Regions from separate parts of the Homo sapiens genome. Here region 2 is linked to region 1. The links are contacts of gene promoters, found by promoter capture Hi-C in human tissues and cell types (Jung and others, 2019). All regions are on one chromosome and are shown on one strand. Each heading gives the region's core, a stretch centred on a gene start or on the middle of the fragment in contact. The rest is flanking DNA. Distances are from core to core; before and after follow the strand shown. Region 1 holds the start of PLEKHS1 (pleckstrin homology domain containing S1). Region 2 has its middle 33 kb from the start of MIR4483.

Evidence for each region. Contacts are between HindIII fragments. The study calls those that stand out against the background at their distance.
Region 2: a contact is called between a fragment that was not itself captured here and the fragment with the promoter of PLEKHS1 in region 1, in 1 of the 25 tissues and cell types used here (aorta).

The regions. Positions count from the first base shown.
Region 1 is chr10:113,750,241-113,752,940 of GRCh38, forward strand. It overlaps PLEKHS1 (pleckstrin homology domain containing S1), which reads left to right and starts at 1,442. Exons shown (of 13, transcript NM_001395068.1): 1 at 1,442-1,521. The HindIII fragment of the contact is 5,664 bases long and covers 1-1,855 here.
Region 2 is chr10:113,809,995-113,812,694 of GRCh38, forward strand. No RefSeq gene overlaps it. Among named protein-coding and RNA genes, the nearest start is that of MIR4483, 33 kb to the left of the region's middle. The HindIII fragment of the contact is 8,663 bases long and covers 1-2,700 here.

The DNA of each region.
Region 1 (2,700 bases), core at 192-2,691:
TTTATAAAGAAAAGAGGTTTAATTGGCCCATGGTTCTGCAAGCTGTACAGGAAGCATAGTCCTGGCATCTCTCAGCTTCTGAGAAGACCTCAGGGGGCTTTCTTTTACGCATGGTGGAAGGTGAGGCGGGAGTAGCCATGTCACCTGGTGGGAGTGGGAGCAGTAGAGTTGGGGGAGATGCCACACACTTTTAAATAAAGACCTCAGTACAACTCACTATCTCAGACACAGAACCAAGCCATGAGGGATCCACCCCCAGGACCCAACACCTCCAGCCAGACTCCACCTCCATCACTGGGGATTACATCTCAACATGAGATTTGGAGGGGACATCCAAACTATATCAAAATTAAGAAATTGTTTTTCCTAAATCAAGCAAAACTGGTCCTGTGCAGGAAGCAAACAATATATCAATAATTTCTGTATGCCTGAAGTCCAGCTAGGTTTGCTAAATGAAGAAACCAATAACATCTACCCTCCATAGGATGCAAAAGAGAAAAACAAAGAAATACCCTCTGTTGAATGCTAACTGTGGATAAAGCACTGTGCTAGATGCTTTTTATATGTGAAATTTTACTTAACTTTAAAAAAAAATCCTGTGAAGTCAGTATTATCTGTTCCATTTTGCAGATGAGGAAACAGACTCAGAGAACTCCAGTTAACTTGCCAAGACCACACAATGGATCCATGGCAGAGCTGATTCCAGACCAGCTACCCTCGTGAGGATGAGGATTCAAATGATGTACTTTTACTTCTAAAGGCAGTAGAACAGGATAAAATTCATCATCACTTCTTCCTCTCCCCTAGAAATCTGTAATACACATGAAAATATACCTAAGACCCTTTGGTGGCTGGATACCACTCACCAGGTCTAAGAATGATGGTTTGCTCAATTGCTGTTGGTGGCTGTGCAGGGGAACATGCCTAGCGCCACCCTGTTGATGGTAACACTCTGTCATGGCTGAATGAGCAACTCTTCCTGGAAACCATTGGCATGTACAAGTGTTTAGAGAAGCCAGGCTTTTGTTTCCTCATCTGGTACAAAGGAACCCTTTCTACCCTTCCCAGGAAGACATTGGTTAAGATATGGCTGAGGGAGGCATAGGGATTTTTTTTCAATGGTAGTCACCACAGACGGTTGAGGGTAAATTGGCGTTGTTCTCAATAAGGGTTATTGTGACCATGGTCCAAAGTCTGGCAGGAATTTTTTTTTATTATTAATGTGTTTGCTTTCATTTTTGGTGCTAGGCAGCTGGGACACCAAGGAGAGTTCTGTGGCAAGCCACAAGTATGAAGGCCCAGAACTTCCCCTGAGGGCATAGCTTCCATTTCAGTTTGGGGCAAGAATAAAATCTGCTCAAGGATATTAGTTTGGGAACTTCCTGGTGGTTCAGATTTCAAGCAGAGTTTGTGCTTAATCCTCACCCAGGCACCAAGGCTCAGAGTCAGCAGGAGTGAGTTCAGGAATCCTCGGGACAAGGCACTTTCCTGAGCACTGGACCAGCGACCTCTTGGCTTCCAGTAAGTACTGCTTGGTGTATCTGGTTTGGACTTCCAAGGCTGGGATGATCTAGAAGCTTTTTTGCAATTGAACAATTGCAAAATTGGAAATGGAAAATTTTGCAGATATGCTGTATTTCTGTTATGGGCACTTTCTTCATAAGCTTCCTAGGCTATACTATAGTCAGAGGGAAATAGGACTGACCTCTTGGTATACTGTATTCACCAAATCCAAAATAATGTTATAATAAATGGGTCAGGCAGTGACTGTGGGGAGATTCTCCTGAATGAGATCAAACAGCTAAATCAGAAAGGCTTTCTTTTTTGTTTGGGGGCAATGACAAGAAAAACAAGCAGAACTATGAAAAGACTTAATTCTACTTTCTTAGATAGGAGGAAAAGCAAAGTAGTTAAGGCCAGCTCTCAAGCTAGAATTCTGGTTCTGCTTCTTTTTAATTACATGATCAAAGTAAAGTTGTTTAATCTCTCCGATAACCATTTCCTCGTCTGTAAATGGGCATTGTATCATTGTGAAAACAGTGCAAGCTTTAGAGTACGGTTATGAGGTTAGGATGAGATTTTATATGTATATGTGAAATTATATGTATACATATACATAAAATCTTTCATATACATATTGCTTAGAAGTGCCTGGAATGTATTAAGTACTCAAAAAATGCTACCCATTATTAAACAACCATAGAATCATAGAATATCTGAGCTGGAAAGGACCTAACAACTAGCATTTATTGAGCTTCTATTATGTACTGAGGAGTGCTCATCAACAGGGTATCTCAAGTGATACTCCCAGCAATCTGATGAGGGTAGTAATAACCTTCATGTTACAGATGAAGAAATGGAGGTGTAGAGAAGTATTATAAAGTATCCAAGATCACATTCCTCATAATTCATGGAGATGAAATTTAAACCCAGATGCCAGAGCTAACACTCTAAACCACCACACCCTACTGCCTTATCTGTCCTCTCATTTTACGGTGGGTGGGGAGATGAAGGAGGAATGGTTGCAGCACATGACTCTGGAGCCCTTTGCAGACACTGGAAGGACAGAGATGTCCTCCAAAGCACACTTTGACATCCACAGGGCACAGGGAGGGCAAATGTTATTTGGGAGTGTCCATGAGCATGAATGTGGTGCTGTGTGGAGTTCTGCCAGGGGACCTAGGTCCAAGTCATCTCAGT
Region 2 (2,700 bases), core at 96-2,595, 60 kb after region 1:
CATCTGGGAACCTGGCTCTCCTACGACTAAAGAAGGTATCTGGAGTACATGGCAGGGAATGGCATGAAAGAGCGCTCTCCTGTGAGTAGGAGATGAGCAGTTCTTACTCAGGGTCACTCAGCTTCTATAGGTTTCAACTTCCGATTCTCCCTAAAGCCACATGAAACCTTCAAATGTATCCTTTCTGTTCATGTCTCTTGGGCCATCAATTTATTCTACGTGCAGGGGAGGAGCAGATACTGCGGTGTGTTTATTGTCCAACAGGAATCACCAAAGACATTCCATAGGCTGCTAAAAGGCTGTTCATGTGTTACACCACTAACTTGAATCTGGAAACTGCAGTTCTGAACTGTAAGCCATTGTTTGGCAACTGATGTAAGATACATAGGTTTCACCAAGTATTTGTATCAACACATTGCTAGTCAGAATGAATAATCTGTATTGATGGATGTGCTCAGTGCCTGTGTGCTCACCCTGGGAGTGCTGAAGAGTTAGTGTGCCGTGCTCTCTAAACTCTTTCACTCACTTACTACTGGGCTGCTCTGTTGCTGTCAGCTCACTGCCTCATTTTATGGTTAATACAACCATTTTACACTTTACACCACCATGAGGGATTGATTCTTCCACTGTTGTACCTCCAGGCCCCAAACCCAAGCTGGGGGAAGTTCTGCTGTTTTATTTTTTATCTTTTTATTTTTGAGACAGAGTCTTACTCTGTTGCCCAGGCTGGAGTGCAAAGGCATGATTTCAGCTCACTGCAACCTCCGCCTCCCGGTTCAAGTGATCCTCCTGCCTCAGCCTCCTGAGTAGCTGGGACTACAGGTGTGCACCACCACGCCCAGCTAATTTGTGTATTTTTAGTAGAGACAGGGTTTCACCATGTTGGTCAGGCTGGTCTTGAACTCATAGCCACTACACCCAGCCAGTTCTGCTGTTTATATATTATATCAAAAAGCATTAGATAAATACATATTAATAAGTAAAATAAACATATTAGCTCAAAACATTTTCTCACCTGACATATCTTAATATTATAGCATACATCCATTGTGATAATTAGCTTGAAAAATATGATCATGTCCAAGCCCTGGCAAACCATGCAATACTTTGAAAAAAAAAAATAGCAATGAAGCTAACAGACTCATAGAATCTTCCAGGCAGGACCTAAGATCAATTACTTCTCATTCTAGTGGAGGAAACTGAGATGCAGGATAGTGGACTAAGTTGCCCAGTGTCACAAAGTTAGTGGCAGAACCAGGCCTACCTAAATTATAGTCTCTGAACACTAAGTCAACAGCTTTCATTACTATACTGGCTGATTAAGCAATATCTCTTTTCAAAGAATACTAAATAATTAGAAGTTGTGTGATCATATCTATGGCCCGGGGACAGGGCCAAGATGGCTGACTAGAAGCAGCAGCATTTGCAGGCTCCCATTGGGAAAAAACATAATAAGCGTGTGAATCCTTCACTGACAACCAAGGTATCCAGGTTCTCTCATCAAAATTGACTAGAAGCTGGTGTGACCCACAGAGGGAAGGAAGAGCAGTGTGGTGTGGCAGCCCACCTGAGAGCCACACAGGGAAGGGGAACCCCCTCCCCCCAGCCAAGGGAGGCAGTGAGTGAGCGTGCTGCCCAGCAGGGAAAACTGTGCTTTTCTCACGGAACTGTGCAACCCACAGATCAGAAGAGCCCACTTGTGAACCCACACCACCGGATATTCAGGACTTTAACTCGGCTCTGGATCAAGTGGACCTAGTAGACATCTACAGAACTCTCTACCCCCAATCAACAGAATATACATTCTTCTAAGTGCCACATAGCACTTATTCTAAAACCAACCACATAATTGCAAGTAAAACACTCCTCAGCAAATGCAAAAGAACTGAAATCATAACAAACAGTCTCTCAGACCACAGTACAATCAAATTAGAACTCAAGATTAAGAAACTCACTCAAAACCACACAATTTCATGGAAATTGAACAACCTGCTCCTGAATGAATCCTGGGTAAATAATGAAATTAAGGCAGAAATCAAGAAGTTATTTGAAACCAATGAGAACAAAGAGACAACGTACAAGAATCTATGGGACACAGTTAAAGCAGTGTTAAGAGGGAAATTTATAGCACTAAATACCCACATCAGAAAGCTAGAAATATCTTAAATGGACACCCAACATCACAATTAAAAGACCTAGAAAGGCAAGAGCAAACTAATCCAAAAGCTAGCAGAAGACAAGAAATAACTAAGATCAGAGAAGAATTGAAGGAGATAGAGACATGAAAATCCCTCCAAAAAATCAAATGAATCTAGGAGCTGTCTTTTGAAAAAATTAACAAAATAGATAGACCACCAGTAGACTAATAAAGAAGAGAGAGAAGAATCAGATAGACACAATAAAAAGTGATAAAGGGGATATCACTACTGACCCCACAGAAATACAAACTACCACCAGAGAATACTATAATGCAAATAAACTAGAAAATCTAGAAGAAATGGATAAATTCCTGTATATATACACCCTAACAAGACTAAACCAGGAAGAAGTCAAATCTCTGAATAGAGCAATAAGAAGCTCTGAAATTGAGGCAGTAATTAATAGCCTATCAACCAAAAAAGTCCAGGGCCAGACAGATTCACAGCTGAATTCTACCAGAAATACAAAGTGGAGCTGGTACCATTCCCTCTGAAACTATTT